Regions from separate parts of the Homo sapiens genome. Here regions 2, 3, 4, 5, 6 and 7 are each linked to region 1. The links are contacts of gene promoters, found by promoter capture Hi-C in blood cells and fetal thymus (Javierre and others, 2016). All regions are on one chromosome and are shown on one strand. The core of a region is centred on a gene start or on the middle of the fragment in contact, and the rest is flanking DNA. Distances in the headings are between cores, read along the strand shown. Region 1 holds the start of CHRNA9 (cholinergic receptor nicotinic alpha 9 subunit). Region 2 overlaps APBB2 (amyloid beta precursor protein binding family B member 2). Region 3 overlaps NSUN7 (NOP2/Sun RNA methyltransferase family member 7). Region 4 overlaps NSUN7 (NOP2/Sun RNA methyltransferase family member 7). Region 5 holds the start of NSUN7 (NOP2/Sun RNA methyltransferase family member 7). Region 6 has its middle 27 kb from the start of NSUN7. Region 7 has its middle 5.7 kb from the start of PDS5A.

The links. Contacts are between HindIII fragments. The CHiCAGO score rates a contact against its expected background, and 5 or more counts as called.
Region 2: a contact is called between a fragment that was not itself captured here and the fragment with the promoter of CHRNA9 in region 1, in 1 of 17 cell types (neutrophils). The highest score is 7.9, in neutrophils.
Region 3: a fragment that was not itself captured here is called in contact with the fragment with the promoter of CHRNA9 in region 1 in 1 of 17 cell types (neutrophils); the score reaches 5.0 in neutrophils.
Region 4: a contact is called between a fragment that was not itself captured here and the fragment with the promoter of CHRNA9 in region 1, in 1 of 17 cell types (neutrophils). The highest score is 6.9, in neutrophils.
Region 5: a contact is called between the fragment with the promoter of NSUN7 here and the fragment with the promoter of CHRNA9 in region 1, in 9 of 17 cell types (neutrophils, total B cells, activated CD4 T cells and 6 more). The highest score is 9.4, in neutrophils.
Region 6: a fragment that was not itself captured here is called in contact with the fragment with the promoter of CHRNA9 in region 1 in 2 of 17 cell types (endothelial precursors and total B cells); the score reaches 5.9 in endothelial precursors.
Region 7: a fragment that was not itself captured here is called in contact with the fragment with the promoter of CHRNA9 in region 1 in 2 of 17 cell types (naive CD8 T cells and non-activated CD4 T cells); the score reaches 6.2 in naive CD8 T cells.

Annotation. Positions count from the first base shown.
Region 1 is chr4:40,333,908-40,336,799 of GRCh38, reverse strand. It overlaps CHRNA9 (cholinergic receptor nicotinic alpha 9 subunit), which reads right to left and starts at 1,467. Exons shown (of 5, transcript NM_017581.4): 1 at 1,269-1,467; 2 at 828-973. The coding sequence starts at 1,332. The HindIII fragment of the contact is 7,151 bases long and covers 1,090-2,892 here.
Region 2 is chr4:40,845,639-40,848,530 of GRCh38, reverse strand. All of the region lies in intron 12 of APBB2 (amyloid beta precursor protein binding family B member 2), which reads left to right. Among named protein-coding and RNA genes, the nearest start is that of NSUN7, 97 kb to the right of the region's middle. The HindIII fragment of the contact is 8,965 bases long and covers 1-2,892 here.
Region 3 is chr4:40,790,010-40,792,901 of GRCh38, reverse strand. NSUN7 (NOP2/Sun RNA methyltransferase family member 7) reads right to left here. Exons shown (of 12, transcript NM_024677.6): 8 at 2,157-2,300. Among named protein-coding and RNA genes, the nearest start is that of NSUN7, 42 kb to the right of the region's middle. The HindIII fragment of the contact is 2,650 bases long and covers 79-2,728 here.
Region 4 is chr4:40,768,111-40,771,002 of GRCh38, reverse strand. The region is part of intron 4 of NSUN7 (NOP2/Sun RNA methyltransferase family member 7); the gene reads right to left. Among named protein-coding and RNA genes, the nearest start is that of NSUN7, 20 kb to the right of the region's middle. The HindIII fragment of the contact is 3,396 bases long and covers 1-2,892 here.
Region 5 is chr4:40,748,459-40,751,350 of GRCh38, reverse strand. NSUN7 (NOP2/Sun RNA methyltransferase family member 7) reads right to left here and starts at 1,396. Exons shown (of 12, transcript NM_024677.6): 1 at 1,051-1,396; 2 at 360-748. The coding sequence starts at 657. The HindIII fragment of the contact is 13,723 bases long and covers 1-2,892 here.
Region 6 is chr4:40,721,498-40,724,389 of GRCh38, reverse strand. No RefSeq gene overlaps it. Among named protein-coding and RNA genes, the nearest start is that of NSUN7, 27 kb to the left of the region's middle. The HindIII fragment of the contact is 5,794 bases long and covers 1-2,892 here.
Region 7 is chr4:39,982,154-39,985,045 of GRCh38, reverse strand. No RefSeq gene overlaps it. Among named protein-coding and RNA genes, the nearest start is that of PDS5A, 5.7 kb to the right of the region's middle. The HindIII fragment of the contact is 449 bases long and covers 1,176-1,624 here.

The DNA.
Region 1 (2,892 bases), core at 218-2,717:
TTTTTTAAAAAATTGAGATTGGCCGGGCGCGGTGGCTCATGCCTGTAATCCCAGCACTTTGGGAGGCCGAGGCGGGCGAATCATGAGGTCAGGAGATTGAGACCATCCTGACTAACACGGTAAAACCCTGTCTCTACTAAAAATACAAAAAAAAAATTAGCCGGGTGTGGTGGCGGGTGCCTGTAGTCTCAGCTACTCAGGAGGCTGAGGCAGGAGAATGGTGTGAACCCAGGAGGCAGAGCTTACAGTGAGCGGAGATCATGCCACTGCACTCCAGCCTGGGTGACAGCAAGACTCCGTCTCAAAAAAAAAATTAAGATCAAATTCACATTAAAACTCACCATTTTAATCATTTTCGAAGGGAACAATGCACCGGCTTCCAATATATTCACAACGTTGTGCAACCATCACCACTGCCTAATTCAAGATCATTTCTTCCCCCCGCAAAGAAACGCCGTAATCATTAAGAACTCACTGGCCGTTTTCCCCGTCCTCCCCACAGACCCCGGCAACCTCTATGCCGTTTTCTGTCTCTACGGATTTACCTCTTTTGGACATTTTATATAAATGGCTGCATACAGTATGTAACCCCATCTTTCTTTAGATTATCTAAGACTGTTACAGTTAATGACCAGGATTAGGTAACGTTTCTTGAAATTAATTAGTTTTGTAGAAAGCTTCCTTTTCCCGACATTCTCTTCTCCCACCAGCTTGCTTAAGGAGCTATCATTCCCTCTCAAATTCCCAGTTAAGACATTCTCTTCAGAAAGCATGGTTGTTTATCCTCTAAGAATCATTCCACAGAGTCAGCACCATGTGTTACTCACCATATCCTTAATCTGAGAGAGCGTAATCTGCAGGGTCACATTCAGGACTTTATCTGTATCTTCCACTGGACGAAGAGCATTAGAATAATCTTCAAAAAGGTCATTAAACAACTTCTGAGCATATTTTCCATCTGCCGTCTCTGCAGCTACTCAACAAGAGGGATCTGGATTAACATTCAGAGTGTTGTGTGTATTTCAAGACAAACAACACAAGACTGAGGTCTAAAATGGGGGATGGCCCAACACTGGCGAGGGACAAGCTTTGGGTGGATGGATGAGTTGTTTTTCTGGCATGCCCTACCAAGATCAGAGTCAGTAGGAAGCACAGAACACTTCCATGCGGTTGAATCATCTGTTTTGTCTTCCCTGTCCTGCCCCACCTCCCACCAAAGCAATAGCCCCAGATGAGACAAGATAGGTTACGTGTCACCAGCCTCTCACCTCTCAGTCTGGAAGCAGCAAAGTAGATCCAGCAAAAGGAGATGCAGGAATGGGACCAGTTCATCTTTTTCCTGAGCCTCTATAATAAAGTCTCAGTCAGGCAGCGTGGTCTTCCACTTCCCCCTATGAATACAAAGGATCTGGGCACAAGGAGCCCACACCGCTGCAGCCTTATGGCGGGAGAGCTCAGGCTTGCATTGCATGCAGGACCGAGATCCTGAGATCCAGGCCTGCCCTCCCTCCCCTCCGGTAATTTGAGACTGGCAGCTCCAGTGGCTGAGAAGCCGGGAACCCAGGGTGTGTTAGGTCCAACAGTGCTGTTGTGGGGGGCCATCTCAGTTGAGGGTCCCTAGCCACCCTCAGCAGAAACAACCAGACAGAAAAGGAGGTAGATGCAGGCAACAGGGGTATGCCTGACACCCCAGAGACTCCATCTAAGCAGAATGGGAGATTTCTACACCCACCATGAGCAGAGTCAGCCTGAGTCCAGGGACTAAGGGAAGCCTAAAAGACTGAGCCATGGGACGGCTGTCCAGAAAGACTCTACGTGCTTTTAGCAGCATTTGAAGAGGGAAAGAGACACGGTTCTATGATCTCCAGAATATATTGGCATTTTGGTTTTTTCTCTGCCTCAGCTTCTGATCCCTCCTGCAGCTGTCCCACTGGGCATGGATCTTGCATAGTAAATGTTTGTGAGTATATATGTGAGGGGGTGTGCTGGATGGGCGGATAATCACTCGCTTAAGAAGCAGCAACACTGTGAGTTGGATTTGGACTTGACCACCTGGGTTTGACTGCCAGCCAAACCCTGACGAGCTCTATTATTCTGTAAAAGTCACCTAACCTCTCTGAGCCTTCCAGAACTACAGACTGGGGAAAATAATATTTTCTCTCTCTAGAGCTACTGAGATAACTGTATGTGAAAGCACTTTCTAAATATCAGTAATTATCATCTTTGATCAGCTTTGCATACCCAGAATTTCTATACTCACCAAGTCACCCAGGATTTACCAGCTCGAAAAAAAAAAAGAAAAACTGGTTCAAAGGCTGACCAAATCAGCATGAGAATAATAACCAATGGTGATATTGCTAATGATGACACCCTTTGCATTTGAATGCTACTTCATATAAAGTTTCAGTCATTTCTCATATGTGATATAATTTTACTCCTATAAAAAAATGTCAATTTTCAATTGCTGCTTAGTCTGGAAACTCATGTCTGTCTCTCCTCTTGCCTGGGGAAACTGCTTTGGAAAACCATATTAAGATAATTTGGTTGCCTGGAATTGGAGCGAGGAAATTGGATAGCTCTGTTTCATCAGGTTACAGCCGCCTGATGAGTCACCCCATCCCTCTTCGGGAATGTATCCTCTGAGTGGAACAGACACTCAAGCCATCGGCAAAGTGTTTCTTAATTGCCTATCCCATTGTGTTGATTGTGAAGACATTATTTTTCTGACGCCCCTAGTCTGACTCATTCATCAAATGACACAATTCCGGGTGCCCACGCTCAGTCCTCCTTCAGCAAACCATCCGCTCCAGAATCTCAGAGGCAGAAGGTAATTTTGAAATTGAGTTTAATGCCTCACTTCTATATGAGGAAACTGAGGCCCAGGGATGCAGA
Region 2 (2,892 bases), core at 155-2,654, 510 kb before region 1:
TGAGGGATGGGGTCCTGAGCAGAGCCAATTAACTGGGAGGGAGCCAGGCTCAGGTGCTAGGTGCCCCAGAGCTACACGGCAGGAAAGAGCCCAGCCAGCAGGCCTGTGTTCTGTTTGCAGATCTACCACCTGCTAGCTGTGGGCTTTGGAGCAAGTCAACTTAAACTCTCTGACCCTTCAATTCCTCATTTGTAAAATGAGTCGTGATGCTTCCCCCTGCAAGGTTATTGTGTGGCTTGGCGACAGTGCGCAGCAAGAATAGAGCCTGGCTAGACAGAAGCAATCATAGCCAGGAGCCGCTACTGTTACTTGGTTAGTGGTAATCAGCCTTCCTAGGGTTGGTGTCTGCTTTTCTTTAGATATTATTGAGTTTACATTATACCAGAAATACTTGTATCTAGATGGAAGTTAACAAAATTCAGGACTGGGCATAGTGGCTCATGCCTGTAATCCAAATACTTTTTTGAGAAGCTGAGGTGGGTGGATTGCTTGAGCCCAAAAGTTTGAGACCAACCTTTGCAACATAGTGAGACCTCATTTCTACAACAAATAAAAAATTAGCCGGGTATGATGGCAAACACCTATAGCCCCCGCTACTTGGGAGGTTGAGGCCGGAGGATTGCTTGAGCCAAGTAGTTTGAGGATGCAGTAAGCTATGATCGTGCTACTGGACTCCTGCCTGGGCAACAGAGCGAGATCCCATCTCTTAAAAAAAAAAAAAAGCAAGCAAAAACAACAAACAATTCAAATGAAGGCCATATGTATTGGCTTTCCATGTTATCTACCCTAGTACTCCTTTGAACTGGCACAAAGAAAGCCCCTTGAAAATTCAGAAAGTGATTCACCATATCCACAAGAGGTCCTCCATGTGGCTGGGTGCTCACCGTGGTTTTAAGTAGGAGGCTTGTCTGCACCTTGCCAGGAGTTTGTACCCTCATGGCATTCTGGCATGGAAACCACTGTGCTGTCATTTTCCCTGCTCAGAATCAGTTCTAAATCCTTATGCGTTCCTGTGCTTTGTCAGATAGGAGCCTTCTGGTGTCAAGGTGTTTCGTGTTGTTTTATTTTTTTGAGACGGTCTTGCTCTGTCACCCAGGCAGGAGTGCAGAGGCACGATCTCAGCTCACTGCAACCTCCACCTCCCGGGTTGCAGTGATTCTCACGTCTCAGCCTCCTGAGTAGCTGGGACTACAGGTGTGCGCCACCATGCCTGGCTAATTTTTGTATTTTTAGTAGAGACAGGGTTTCGTCATGTTGGCAGGCTGGTCTTGAACTCCTGGCCTCAAGTAATCCACCTGCCTCAACCTCCCAAAGTGCTGGGATTACAAGTGTGAGCCACCATGCCTGACCTGGTATTTTTTATTTTTGTTTTACCATCTTGGCTTTCAGAAAGGAAGCTAACCCATGGTTTCACAGTTCAGGTAGAATTTATATAACGTTATCCTTTCATTATACCCTAAACTTTAAAGTTGAAACTGGAACATGGTGTAAATTATCTCTCACTTAATAACTAACTATAATTTGTGTGTGTATTCTTCTCTCAGATATTCAGAGATGCAAGATTTTTGCATTTGGTTTTTTGTTTTTTTTTTAATCTGTGATATAGCACAGATGAAAGCTGAAGCTCGTTAATTCTTGCTTAAAGTCTTCAAAGATGGACTTTTAAAAATACTCGTTTCCTGGTTGCTTTTAAATATCCTTTTTCCCTCCTCCTCATTAGTAAGCAGGCTGGTAACTATTGTGTCTTCCCTCCAATGGCATGAGAAAGTCCTTTGTTTAGAATAATGTGCCTTGAATTTCAATAACCTCAACCACTTTAACTCCTGGCTTTACACTTCTAAGTGCTGGAAGTCTAACTTTCCCATCATGGCGCTGCTGGGCAGGACAGTGAGGTGGGAGGGGAGCTTGCTTTGGAAAGGAAGGCACACTTGGTCAGAGACGGTTGTTCATGTCACCGGTTGATCCTGGGAAGGATAGAACCTTTCCCTGAGATGAATTCTCTAAATATCAGCCAGAAATCAGATGGTAAATTTGCATAAATTCAGTATTCATTTCAGTTCAGAGGCCTTTCACCTGCGGCATGTAGATTCTAAAGGGACCTGGGATTGAGTTTCAAGAATCACTGAACTGTTCCAGCTCTGCCCCCTTCCAAAATTGTGTATAAAATTGTGAGTCTGTGCACTTTTTTTTTTTTTTTTTTTTTTGGAGTGTTTTCATCCGAGGGCCTTGATCCAAAACAGGTCAGGAACCTTTCCTTTCTCCTCGTGGAGCTCCCCTTCCCTCTCTCACATAGTGATTGGCCTGGCCTGCACTGTAAGGCCATACTCAAGCCGCCATCCTGTAGGAGCTTTATATGGATTAAATAATGGAATTTTATGGCACTCTCAGGACCTGAAGGCCTCTATGATTCCCATTTCACAGATGAAGAAACTGAAAAACAAAGAGGCTAAGGGCCCTGACCAAGGGCAGACAGCTGATAAATGACACACACACACACACACACACACACACACACCCCACTCACACCCACCCACCCACCCACCCACACCCACCTACCCACCCCTGAAGCTGGAGGGAAAAAATAAACTGTCAGACTCAGGAGCTGGTGCAAGAATTTTCATGATGTAAAGTTTTGCAGTGTTTACTTCATTGTCCTGTGGATAATGGTGTGATGTGTGCTCAAAAGGCTAGAGAGATGGCCAGTGATGAAAGACAAACATCAAAAAGAAGCATGCAACAGAGACTTCTGCAAAAATGGAGTGAGAAGTCTACTGGCAAGTCCTTGCCTCGCGTGCTCAGTTTGTGAAAAGTGGACAGTTGTGCGCAGCATGAGAAGTAGGTGGCTGTGCCAGGGAACAGGAGATGGCGTCCTCTTCCAAAAAGCTGGAATAG
Region 3 (2,892 bases), core at 154-2,653, 460 kb before region 1:
ACCCCCACTAAGTTTCTGGCTAACGTTCCACGTTCCCACCAGAGTCACTAGGTCGGCAGCTCCTTATTTGCTCAAGCTTTTAGCTCCTCAGAGTACAGGTTCCTTCAAAAGCCCGCTTACTTCAGGATACGACAACTTTTTTTTTTTTAAATGAGATGGAGTCTTGCTGTCGCCCAGGCTGGAGTGCAGTGGCGCGATCTCGGCTCACTGCAGGCTCCGCCCCCCGGGGTTCAAGCCATTCTCCTGCCTCAGCCTCCCGAGTAGCTGGGACTACAGGCGCCCGCCACCTCGCCCGGCTAATTTTTTGTATTTTTAGTAGAGACGGGGTTTCACCGTGTTAGCCAGGATGGTCTCGAGCTCCTGACCTCGTGATCCGCCCTCCTCGGCCTCCCAAAGTGCTGGGATTACAGGCGTGAGCCACCGCTCCCGGCCAGTATACGACAACTTCTTAGCTTATCCTATCATCTCCTCATCAAGGCTTTCAAAACATTACCAGTACCTAGGAAATGTTTTCCTTTCCCCACTTTCCTTATTTGTATTTTCCTCTGGGCCTTTCTCCTCTAGCCTTTAGTTTATTTTTATTCTGTGGTTTATTTTTTTTCTGGATTTCCACCTCAAAATGGCCCAGGATAAGGCCAGAGTCTCACAGTTCTGAGCTCTAGTTCTCCTGACTGCTATGCTTATTATAGCTGCTATTTCTTCCCCCTTTTTTCCTTCCCCCTTTTCTTTCAGTGTCTACTAATTGTTCTTTGATTATTTCTTAAAGTTCATCTAGAAATTTTCTCAGCCTACCTACCATTCTACCATCTGAATTGGTTATTCTTTGGCTGAAGTCTCTCTGGAAAGAAATTTTCTATAGCAAGTCAAAATTCCATGTGGTACAGTGTAAACCCAGTTAAAGATAGTGTCGTTTAGTGGAAGGAAAATGTGCTAACCCACCTGAATTTGAATCCCAGCTTCCCTACTTACTAGCTACATGACCATAAGCAACTGGTTTAATTTTTCTGAGTCTTGGTTTTTTTCCTCTACAATTAGAAGAACACTAACCTCAAAAAGTTATTGTGAATACTAAGTGACAGTATGTGAACACTACCTAGAATATTGCCTGGGACATTATTGTGTTTAATAAATATTAGCTCTTTTCCCTCCATTTCTTTTCCTCTTCTGTCCTTGCTAGAAACAGAAAACAGTTACTATATTCTGTACATTTGTGGGGTGTCTTCTTTTTCTAATATTCTAATTAACCTTTCAATTTAATATGCCTTTCAATATAAGCAAGGGATAAGCATAAGTTTCATTTAATTTGGAGCAATATAATGTGATTAAGAGAGTCATTAAAAGTGCCAGTCTCAGAGTCAGACTGGTTGTATTTGAATCCAAGCTCTGCCTCTTACTAGCCCAATGATCCTAGGAGACTTCATTAACTTCTCTGAGCCTCAGATTCCTCATTTGTAAAATAGAAGTTAACAAGTTACTACTTCACAGAATTCTTGTGAAGACTTACTGAAATAATCCAAGAAAAGTGCCACGCCCAGGGCCTTACATCTAAGTGCTCAATAAATGTTAATGTTAAATAATTATTATTTTAAATGTATTTAAAAGCCAATAAAATTAAATGTCAATGCTTCTATATTTAGTCTGAGACATTCATTTCATAAAGCATACATCCTAGCGATTAAGACACCTTTGAGTTTGAAATAATCTGATAATGATTTAATTAGAATCATGTTTAGAACATAGGCTCTAGAGTCAAACAGATCTAAATTTGAATCTTAGCTCTGTCTCTAGTTGCTTGACCTGAGAAAAATGAATCAATCTTTGAGTCTCAGTATTTTCATCTATAGAATGCCGGTAAATTTTAACACTTACATCAAGAGCTCTGGTATATTCAGAATAGCATACTGGCCAGCATCTTTTCTGATTGCCTACATTATTCCAATTATTAAATATTTTGAATATCACCCTGGTCTATTGGATTGGTGTAAGGATTAAATGAGGTAACAGAGGTAAAGGACTTTATACATAGTAAGTACTTTATATGTGGTTGCTATTATTTATTAATCAGATGTATTTGATATGCTATTTTAATGATTTTAAATAATTTTATATTTTAAACTGTCAACTAATTTCAATAATTTAGAAATTAAAACAAGTACCTTCATGTTCATTTAAAATAAATTCTACTGGATTACTAACACCCAGTCCTGAACAACGAGGTAGCAGCAAAATCACTTTAACTTTCTGTAACCTGTGATCCTTTGATTCAATGTTAATAAATTTCTCATGAAGTATTTCAATATCTGGGGAAAAAACACAGAAAATTTAATGTAAAATATTAATGAAAAATCTTAATGTAGTATGTGATTGTATCTATTTATTGTACATTTTAAAATCCTCAACCTCACAAAAATTCATTTTGATGTAGTTAGAAAAGAAGGCTATTCTTCTCTGATATCTACCCAAAGTTAATACAGGAATCCTATTAATAGAATGTTTTCTCCTTCACCTGAAATGATGTTGAAATTTAAAATTAAATTCTCATTCTGAACTGCAGGATATATAGTAGGGGAGAAATAGACTTCAGAGGCAGAAAAATTCAAGTTGACTCCCAGCTTCACTGTTTACTAGCTGTGCATTTTAATCTCCCTGAGCCTCCATTTCCTTCTTCATAAAATGGGATGGCTACCTCATATAACTGTGGTGAAGACTGAGATAAAGTAGTTAAGCTTAGCGTGCTGTCTATTATATAGCAAGGGCTCAATATTGGTTATTTCCCTCTCCTATTCTTTATCCCCTTTTATGTTCTATCTTCTCTCCAGAAAAAAAAAAAAAAAAAAGGTGGGGGAGGGTTATCAGAAGCACTTATAAGTTTCCAGTCCAAGGTACAGAATC
Region 4 (2,892 bases), core at 154-2,653, 430 kb before region 1:
CTCGGCTTACTGCAACCTCCGCCTCCTGGGTTCAAGAGATTCTCCTGCCTCAGCCTCCCAAGTAGCTGGGACTACAGGTGCACACCACCACACCTGGCTAATTTTTGTATTTTTAGTAGAGATGGGGTTTCACTATGTTGGCCAAGATGGTCTCGATCTCTTGACCTCACGATCCGCCCACCTTGGCCTCCCAAAGTGCTGGGATTACAGGTGTGAGCCACCGTGCCCAGCCACCTCAGTTTATTTTTAAATGAAATTGATATTACTCTTTTTTGGCTTTTTACTACTTCTTTTGGCTTTTTGTAATATACATTTACATTTTTTAAATTTTCAGAAATATTTATGTAGTTTTTGACTCAAGTTTTTGAATGGCATTACTAATGTCTAACATATCAGAACTGTGGTTCTCTTTAAATATAAATTGAATAAAGTCATCTGCTGCATAATGACATTTAGGTCAATGATGAACTCTGTTTATGATGGTGGTCCCATAAAAGTTTACTACGGTAGTACCTTTGCTATATTTAAATAGGTTTAGATACACAAATACTTGCCATAGTGTTATAATTGCCTACAGTATTCAGTACATAACATGCTGTGCAGGTTTGTAGCCTAGGAGCACTAGGTTATACCATATAGGATAGGTGTGCAGTAGGTTATACCATCTAGATTTGTGTAAGTATGTTCTACGATGTTCCCATCAGAAGAAATCACCTAACGACACATTTCTCAGAATGTATCCCCATCATTAAGTGACACTTGATTGCAATTTCTTTTTTTTTTTTTTTTTTTGAGATGGAGTTTCCCTCTTGTTATCTAGGCTGCAGTGCAGTGGCATGATCTTGGCTCACTGCAACCTCCGCCTCCCGGGTTCAAGTGATTCTCCTGCCTCATCCTCCCAAGTAGGTAGGATTACAGGCATGCACCACCACGCCTGACTAATTTTGTATTTTTAGTAGAGATGGGGCTTCTCCATGTTGGTCCAGGCTGGTCTCGAACTCCCGACCTCAGGAGATCCACCCGCCTCGGCCTCCCAAAGTGCTGGGATTACAGGCGTGAGCCACCACGCCTGACCTTGATTGCATTTTCTTAATGCCAAAAGATAATCTTCAATGAACTGCTTGAATTTCCCAGAAAAATGTAAAATCAGTCATCTGCTTCAGACTCTTTACTAGGTAAGTGAAACAGGTGAAGAGTTTCTGAAGAAGGAGCGGAGAGAATGTGAGAGATAAAACCCATGAACAAGTATTTAAAGGGCATTTTGGCAATTAGAAATTCTGGAGCATTATGGGGAATGAGAGAAACTGGGGAAGATAAGAAAAAGAATATATCTGAGCAAATGTGCCTTATCCCAAAAATGCATGGCTGGTTTAACATTCATAAACCAGTCAATGTAAATCACCTGGCCACTTAATACAATAAAGAAGAAAAACAATCACTTCAGTCTTCTAAAACTGTTCTCTGTTTTCTTAACTCAGCAAGACTGCTGTTTTCTACTTTCTGCATTGCAGTTTGAGAATTCTTCCAGGCATAAAGCCAGGACTATTCTAGGGCTCACCTCATTTGTTTTGTTCTTTCAGGGATCAGGTTTCTGTGCTGCTTCTTGTCTAATGTCCAAAACCTTTACGTCCTATGATATATTTTGGCCAGTTTTCTAGTTGTTTACAGTAGAAGGGGAAGACTGATCCAAGATATTCTATCATGACCATACAATTACATTTTGAAAATATCACTCTACCTGCCATGTGGAATAGATTGCAGGAAAGTGAGAGTTATAGGCCAGGGAAATGTATCTAAGGAAGCTATCATGGTAGTCCAAGTGATAGATTATGGTGGCATAGATTTGGATGGTAGTAGTGGAAATGGAAAGAAGCACACAGGCTCAGTGTATGTTTTTGAATTGGAGTTACAGGACTTGATGCATTAGACACAGATTGAGTGCAGGGGAGGGGAGGAAAGAAGAATCAAGGATGATGTCTAGGTAGATGGTGATGCCTTAGCTGTGAAGTGGAAGACATCAGAATAAATGGTTTTGGGGTGGTTTGGAAGAAGAACTGACTAAGTCTTTCCCCTCCTTTCTCTACTTTTTCACTGCTTATTTTCCAATTGCTGCCTCACAACAGTCCAACAAATAATTTAATAGAAATAGATTATTGGGCTGGTGGAAAGGCATGGGGAGTGAGAAACAAGGGGTTGTGGTCTCTCTTTTTTTAACCTGGTCACACAGTATTAAAAAGACAGTTACATTTTATACAAAGAATGGGTTCTTAAAGACCTTTCATATGTAAAAAAAATGATAATAGGTATCATCTTGGATTACATGTCTAAACCCACGAATAAGTGAAGAAAAAGATACATGTTGGTGCTTAGGGGTATAAGAGTGAAAAAACACAAGGATTCCCAGGAGGAACAACAACAAAGGTCAAACCACTTTTACAAGGAGGAAATCATTCTCATTCAGCTTCTTGCTAATTACTTCTTCTTCTATAACCTCTTAGAGTTAGTCTTTATCTGGCCGAGCACGGCAGCTCACACTTGTAATCCCAGCATTCTAGGAGGCCGAGGCGGGAGGATCACCTGCGGTCAGGAGTTTGAGACCAGCCTGGCCAACATGCTGAAACCCCATCTCTACAAAAACACAGGCATAATGGCGCACACCTGTAATCCCAGCTACTTGGGAGGCTGAGGCAGGAGAACTGCTTGAGCTCAGGAGGTGGAGGTTGCAGTGAGCCGAGATTGTGCCATTGCACTCCAGCATGGGCGACAGAGCAAGAGTCCGTCTCAAAAAAAAAAAAAAAGAAAAAAAAAGAATTAGTCTTTATCCTCTAAGTAGATATATGCTAAGGTATACTTTGAGCTTACAGTGACTGAACTTCCTTGGGAACTACAGTC
Region 5 (2,892 bases), core at 147-2,646, 410 kb before region 1:
CAGAGTTTGAGACCAGCCCAGACAATAAAGCGAGACCCCTAAGTCTACGAGGGAAAAAAAAATACAGGGAGAGGGAAATGATCATTGGAATAAATTGTTTCCTTGTTGAATGTAATGACCGCGCACTACACCGATCTAAGGACAAACACAGTGCACGGGGAAATCTGCAATCCTGGGCTGGAAGAGCTAGTTTCATGGGAACCCTAATTCCTTGACACTTGCAATTAACCAAAGATATGCACATGCCTAAAACCAAAACCTGGTGTGAATGAGGGGAAGGGAGGAGGAGGGCTGCATTCCCCAAATTCTCTCGCTATTATTTTCTTTTAGTGTTGATCTTCCAGACTGGCACAACTCACATTTCAGGGCACTGAAAGCCAGCTCATAAGACAAACGCTGAAAGGACTGATCCTCAGACTCGGACAAGGACCGCAGGGGTTCATTCCCATACTTGATTAAGACTTTCTGTGCCGACTTTTCGATTCGAATACCCTGAAAAATGTTGGCTGCCATGACATAAACGGAGTCCGGATAGCCCGTTTTTTCGGGCACACCAGCTGAGCTTTTCCCACCGGACAGAGGCAGGGAAGTGAGTTGGGAGATGATCTCGGGATCTTCTTCGTTCGAAAACTCCAGTTCGCCCGTGGAATTCAGCATGTCTGCCCCTCGCCTGTCGTGAGTCCTTCACCCTGGGGTTAGAATTCCGATGTTCCAGGAAACGGCTTTCCTCGCATCTGCAGCATGGTCTCTGTGAAGAGAGAAGGTGATTGCAGTAAATCACTCTTTCTGCAGCACCCCTGTGGGTGGCCCCCTTCGTTGTGGCCTTAAAGACTAAGAGGGAGCATTTCCCGTCCCATCTGAGTGTCCCAGACTTCGAGCCTGGGACGCTCAAAAAAAAAAAAAAAAGCGAGGAGGGGTGCAGCGGCGGAGGGAGAAGAGCCCCAAGGAGACCGACGGCTTCCCTCAAGCCAGTCTGGGGGCAGAGCTGCCCCCGGAGCCCCGTCCGCGTCCCCACAGCCCAGTCACCGGCTCCCCCGACTCCTCCCTTACCCCGAGGGCGGATGGTTCCCGGGGCTTCGGGGACGAAGACGCGGAGGGCGGCGTCGGTCACAGGCCCTTGGGAGCCCCGGGACTGCGGGGCGACGGCTGCTGCCCGCGAAGGCCGTTTGGTTCAAATGCAGCCACTCCCACCGGCAGGATTCGGGGCAGGGGGGTCGCAGCCTCTGGCGCCCGGTTCGCTCCGGTGTCGTGAAGTGGTGGGCGCCTCGGGGCCTCGCCTGGCCTCGCGCGTGAGGCCTTCGCGGACGTGGCGGCGAAGAGGGGTGAGCGCGGTGCCCGGGGTCTGGCTGGCTCAGGCCGAGGAAAGCTCAGCCTCCCGAGTCTCCGGCAGTCGACTGCTCCCGGACCGGGTCTTCATGGCAACCGCGAGCGGAGGTGGGGCAGGGGGCGCGGCGCGAGGGCCGTTCCCGCGGGATTTGGCGGGTGCTACCTGTTGCCGGGAGAGTCGCTCTTCCCCCAGCGCGCGGAGACACCTGTTTCAGCCCCTCCGAGCCAGAGGCCTCTTGCACAGTTCCTGGACCTCACCGGGCCTGAGTGCGTGCCCTTGGCTTTGTTTATAAACATTTGGGGATATTTTTGAGGTAGTCTGACGTAGTTCCGTGGTTTTAACTCACAAGTTCCTGAAGTCCCTGTTAAAACTACACATTCTTTAAAATATTTTTAAAATATAGTAATAATTTTTTTTTTGAGACATGGTCTCGCTCTGTCGCCCAGGCTGGAGTGCAGTGGCGCAATCTCGGTTCACTGCAGCCTCCTCCTCCCGGGTTCACGTGATTCTCATGCCTCAGCCTCCCGAGTAGCTGGGACTACAGGCGCCCGCCACCACACCCTGCTAATTTTTGTATTTTTAGTAGAGACAGGGTTTCACCGTGTTGATCAAGTTAGTCTCGAACTCCTGACGTCAAGTGATCTGCCGGCCTTGGCCTCCCAACGTGCTGGGATTACATGCGTGAGCCACTGCGCCGTCTGTAATAATTTTTTTTAATAACAGAGACAGGGTTCCCATTATGTTGCCCAGGGTGGTCTCGAATTCCTGGGCTCAAGGAGTCCTCCCTCCTCGGCCTCCCAAAGTGCTGGGATTTCAGGCGTGAACCACCGCCTCCAGCTAAAAAAAAATCCTTGGAACCCATCCTAGAGATTTGAGTTGCTAAGACCCAGTAATTTGCATTTTTATCAGGTAACTGGCGATTCTGATGCAATCAGCCCAAAGACCACAGTTTGAAAAACTCTGGTATAGTTGAAAGACAACTGGTCCTAATTCCACCTCTGCCTTTCCTCCTTAGGGATTTGCCCTTCCTTCTTTAGGCTAAGGCCATTTCCATTTCCAGCCAGTGGTTAGTAGGATGAAGGGGAAAGAGAGGGCAGCCCATATTTTTCAATGACCTGAAAGGTGCACATATCACTTTGGCTCACATTTTATTGGTCAGAACTCAGTCATATACCCAGCAACCAAGAGGCTGGTAAATGTGTCCAGCTAAAAATAAGGGAACTATTACTGTAGAAGAAGGAGAGAATGGATAATGGGGAAAAAATTAGCAGTACAGAACTCTAACCCTGACCCCTTCTCTCAGAAATCCACCCACTTTCATTATCCCCGGAATACGTTAAACATTCCGTAACATTTTATGTATACATGCATTCATTCGTTCGTTTAACAAGTATATATTAAATTCTTGCTGTGTCCCTGGCATTGTGTTCAGCCCTACAAGTAAAATAATGAATGTATAGAAATGATCAGACACCTGACCGGGCGCGGTGGCTCACGCCTGTAACCCCAGCACTTTGGGAGGTCGAGGCGGGCGGATCACGAGGTCAGGAGATCGAGACCATCCT
Region 6 (2,892 bases), core at 150-2,649, 390 kb before region 1:
AAGCGTGAGCCACCACACCTGGCCTATTTATTCATTTATTTAAAAAAAATTTTTTTTTTAAGTAAGACAGGTTTTAAAATGTTGACTTGCCCCTGGCACAGTGGCTGACATCTGTAATCCCAGCACTTTGGGAGGCCGAGGCGGGAGGATCACTTGAGCTCAGGAGTTCAAGACCAGCCTGGGTGATATGGTGAAACCCCATTTCTACAAATACAGAAAAATTAGCTGGGTCCGGTGGTGCGTGCCTGTGGTCCCAGCTATTCAGGAGGCTGAAGTGGAAGGCTGGCTTGAGTCCTGGAACTGGAGATCGCAGTGAGCCAAGATTGTGCCACTGCACTCCAGACTGAGTGACAGAGTGAGACCCTGTCTCAAAAGTTGACTTGCCATAATCCAAGTTCCTTGAAATCAGAGTGGAAGAAACTCATATTTAGAGAATAGGGAAGAGTGTAGGCTGGAAGGCAGGGACTTGAGGAACTGGTCATGGCAGTCATGGAAGGTTCCTCAGAGCATACTGAGAGGTTTTGCTTCCTGCCACAGAAACTGACATTCCTGTAAGTGGAAATTCTATGAATTGACCAGAACCATAAATGAGAAGCTGAATAAGGCAAAGTTTTATATGACTGTCAAGCAATTAAAACTACAGGTCAGGCTGGGTTCGGCGGCTCATGCCTGTAATCCCAGCACTTTGGGAGGCCGAGGCAGGTGGATCATCTGAGGTTAGGAGTTCGAGACCAGCCTGACCAACATGGAAAAACCCTGTCTCTACTAAAAATACAAAATCAGCCGAGCGTGGTGGCATGTGCCTGTAATTCCAGCTACTCTGGAGGCTGAGGCAGGAGAATCATTTGAACCCAGGAGGCAGAGTTTGCGGTGAGCCGAGATCACACCATTGCACTCTGGGCAACAAGAGCGAAACACAATCTCAAAAAAGAAAAAAAACAAAACCAAAAAAAACCCCTGCAGGTCATCTGGCTTGGGCCCTTGAATGAGTAGGCATCCTTTCAAAGTTAAGGAAATAAGGCACAAAAAAGTTTAATAATTGGCACTTAATTACTAACTCAATATTCTTATTTTAAAAGTTAATAGTAGGTCTAGGCTCAGTATTTCCCACTGGCAACTTGCTGAGGGAGGTTGAATTCCATAGAGACAGTAAATTGGTGATTGATTGCCAGGGGCTGCAGGGGGTAGAATGAGGATGGAGTTATTGATTTAAATCAATGGGGATACAGGGGTGAAGAGAATAGACAAGGTCCCAGTCCTTATGGAGGTTAGTGTTTATCAGGGAGACAGACAAGTTAAACAAACATTGCAGGAGGTGGAGGGGGCTGGGTCAGCGGCACTTATGCAGGAAGTAATTTCTAAGAAGCAGTAAGTAATGTCTAAGAAGCAGTAAGTTACGGTAAGAGAGATTATGAATATAATTTACTTCCTGTCTCTATTCACCAGGAAGTAAATTATGGTGTTCTTGGCAAAGTAAACAGTATAGTTAAAGGCCCACAGATGAAACAGCACATGGTATGCTTAGGGAACTGAAAAAAGTTTAGATCAGTGGAAATGCGGTGGGGAGCAGGAAGAGGCAGATGAGGGTCAGACCACTCATGTGACAAAACAAAGGGGAACCATCAGAAGCTGTTGAAGAGGCAAATGACATGATCACATTTGCGTTTTTGAGACATCACTGCAGAATGTAGGATGGATTGGGGTGAGGCAAGGCTGGAAGTGGAAAGACCGGTTAGGAGACCAGGAAGGATAACCTTGGTGAGAGGTAGTGTGCCTGAACCAGGGTGGTAACCCTGAGGATGATGAGAGGTAGACAGGAGTAAGAGATGTGAAGTTGAATCAGCAGGACTTAGTGATTAATTGGAATGAGGTATCAGAGAAAAGGAATCAAGGTTCTGGCATGGGCAACTTGGGGCCCTTCACTGTTCCAGGAGCACAGAAAGGGAGGCGATTTGGGGAGCTTTCAGTTTAGAAATGTTACGATCATGATACTTCCAAAGATATTCAAACAAATATGCCTACTAGATGCAAAGACTTGGCCTGGAACCATCACTAGTCATCCACCTGGGGATGGTAATTGTAGCCATGGGAGGAGATCAGATCCAGGGAAAGTAGAATGAAAAGAGAAGGGATCTCTTATCTTTTGGTAGAACCATGGGGAAACACTAACAAGTCAGAGAAAGACAGAAGGGAGGAGCCAGAAAAGGAAACAGAGGTGAGGCCAAGAGGAATGAGGAGAATCGTAGGATCATCGAGTCACAGAGGCCAAGGAAAGAAGTGGTCAAATGTGTCAGCTGCTAAAGAGAGGTCAGTAGAGCAAGGACTGAAATTTGCTATTGAATTTAGTAACAAGGAAGTTGTTAGTAACTTAGGAGATTTCAGTGGAAACCCAGATTTCAGTAAGCAGATGAGTAAGTCAGGCAGTGGAAACCATTCTTTTATGAAGTAGATCTGTGACATAACCAGAGGGAAATGTGGAGTCAAATAGAGTTGGTTCTTAAAACAAACAAATAGAAAAGGTGGGACAGGGTTAACTAAGTTTAAATGAGAAAAAGAAGTCAGTCAGTAAAAAAGGGGGAGGTTCAGGGCCAGGCATGGTGAGTCACACCTGTAATCCCAGCACTTCAGGAGGCCGAGGCGAGCGGATCACTTGAGGTCAGGAGTTCGAGACCAGCTTGGCCAACATGGTGAAAACCCGTCTCTACTAAAAATACAAAAATTAGCCGGGCATGGTGGCAGGCACCTGTAATCCCAGCTACTTGGGAGGCTGAGACACGAGAATCACTTGAACCTGGAAGGCGAACTTTGCAGTGAGCTGAGATTGTGCCACTGCACTCCGGCCTGGGCGACAGAGCCAGGCTCTGTAAAAAAAAAAAAAAAAAAAAAAAAAGA
Region 7 (2,892 bases), core at 151-2,650, 350 kb after region 1:
CACCCAGGCTGGAATGCAGTGGCACGATCTTGGCTTACTGCAAATTAGCTCAGATAAAAGAGATTTTACATGAAGAAAACAATTTTGTGTGTCTGTGTAACAGAGTCTTGCTCTGTTGCCCAGGCTGGAGTCCAATGGCCTGATCTCAGCTCACTGCAACCTCTGCCTCCTGGGTTCAAGCAATTCTCCTGCCTCAGCCTCCCAAGTAGCTGGGATTACAGGTGCCCGCTACCATGCCCAGCTAATTTTTTGTATTTTTAGTGGAGAGGGGGTTTCGCTATGTTGGCCAGGCTGGTCTCGAACTCCTGACCTCAAGTGATCCACCCACCTCAGCCTCCCAAAGTGCTTGAATTACAGGCGTGAGTCATTGCGCCTGGCCTAATTTTTTATTCTTAGTAGAGACAAAGTCTCACTATCTTGCTCAGGCTGATTTTGAACTCCTGGGCTAAAGTGATCCTCCTGCCTTGGCCTTCGAAAATGCTGGGATTATGGGCATTAGCCACCTCACTTGGCCAATTATTTTAAGTTTAAAAAAAAATTTTTTTTTGTGGCCGGGCATGGTGGCTCACGCCTGTAATCCCAGAACTTTGGGAGGCCAAGGGGGCGGATCACGAGGTCAGGAGATCGAGACCATCCTGGCTAGCACGGTGAAATCCTGACTCTACTAAAAATACCAAAAATTAGCCAGGCGTGGTGACGGGCGCCTGTAGTCCTAGCTACTCGGGAGGCTGAGGCAGGAGAATGGCGTGAACCCGGGAGGCGGAGGTTGCAGTGAGCCGAAATCGCGCCACCGCACTCCAGCCTGGGCGACAGAGCGAGACTCCGTCTCAAAAAAAATTTTTTTTTTTGAGATGGAGCTTCATTGATGTTGCCCAGGCTGGAGTGCAGTGGCATGATCTTGGCTCACTGCAACCTCTGCCTACTGGGTTCAAGCCATTCTACTGCCTCAGCCTCGCGAGTAGCTGGGATTACAGGTGTGTGCTACCACCACAAGCTAATTTTTGTACTTTCAGTAGTGATGGGGTTTCGACATGTTGGCCAGCCTGGTCTCGAACTTTTGGCCTCAAGTGATTTGCCCACCTTGGCTTCCCAAAGTGCTGGAATTACAGGCGTGAGCCACCATGCCCAGCCTATTTTAAGTTATATAGGACAACAGGAGGCTAACATCCCAAGCTTCATAACAAAAATGCACTGCAATGTGATTGTTGAAATTTTATTTACTCTGAAAACTCTTTCAGTCCTATAATCATCTGTCATCCTAATACTAGCAACTTGAGAAAGGGTTAAAAAGTGGCATTTGTACAAAATATAACTCTAAATAATTTCTTATGGTACTACCATTACTAGACAAAAATTATAATTATCATGAGGGTATAATTTCTTTGACTTCAGGGGATATAATTGAAAAAATATTAAATTACAATATTAAAATGTTTGGAAATTTGTTGAGTTTGGTTTTATTTTTTTCTCTTCTGGACCTCATGTGCTCTGACTAGATTAATTATAATTCTTGGGTTATGAACACATCTCTCATTAGTCCATGGGTTGCCTTTAGTCATTCAACCATTCATTCTTTAGCATAGCTAGCATATGTGAAGTCACCATCTCACCCAAGAATAAAGCTTCAACAGAATACATCTACCAATATATTCATTCTCCCGTGTTGTCTCACTGTGTTCCCTGCTTCTCCTTGTACTCTAAGGGTAACCATTATCCTGAACCTTGCTGTTGAACTTTATGTCACTAAGATTTATCCATGTCACTTATACCTGCAGTTTTTTTCATACTTGAAAATATTTAGGGTCAGGCTTGGTGGCTCATGCCTGTAATCCCAGCACTTTGGGAGGCCCAGGTGGGCAGATCACTTGAGGTCAGGAGTTCAAGACCATCCTGGCCAACATGGGAAACCCTATCTCTACTAAAAATACAAAAATATGCCGGGTGGTGGCGGGCACCTGTAATCCCAGCTTCTCAGGAGGCTAAGGCAGGAGAATCACTTGAACCTAGGAGGCGGAAGTTGTAGTTAGCCGAGATTGTGCCACTGCACTCCAGCCTGGGCAACAGAGCAAGACTGTCTCATAACAACAACAACAAAAGAAAGTAATCAAAATAAATTAAATTAAAAATTCACTTCTCTCGTGGCACTAGCCACTTTCCAAGTGCTGCACAGTCACGTATGGCTGGTGGCTACTATTCTGGACAATGTATGTGTGGAACATTTCTATTGCTGCAGAAATTTCTATTGGACAGAACTGCCCTAGATTTTTGCTCTAGAATTTCTTACTTTCTTCTTCTTTTTTTTTTTTTTTTCTTTTTTTTGAGACTGAGTCTCACTGTGTCACCAAGGCTGGAGTGCAATGGCACGATCTCAGCTCACTGCAAGCTCTGCCTCCCAGGTTCAAGTGATTCTCCTGTCTCAGCCTCCTGAATAGCTGGGATTACACAGGTGCCCATTACCCTGCTCAGCTAATTTTTGTATTTTTAGTAGAGATGGGGTTTCACCAGGTTGGCCAGGCTGGTCTCAAACTCCTGACCTGAGGTTATCTGCCTGCCTCGGCCCCCCAAAGTGCTGGGAGTACAGGCGTGAGCCACCGTGCTCAGGTCTTTTTTTTTTTTTTAGACGGAGTCTTTCTCTGTCGCCCAGGCTGGAGTGCAGTGGTGCAATTTCGGCTCACTGCAACCCCTGCTTCCCAGAGTCAGGCAATTCTGATGCCTCAGCCTCCCAAGTAGCTAGGACTACAGGTGTGCGCCACCCCACCAGGCTAATTTTTGCATATATATATATATGCAAATATATATATATATATTAGTAGAGATGAGGTTTTGCCATGTTGGTCAGGAGCTCTAGAATTTGTATATAGAAGGAGCTGTAGTGAAATTGGGGGTTAGGGG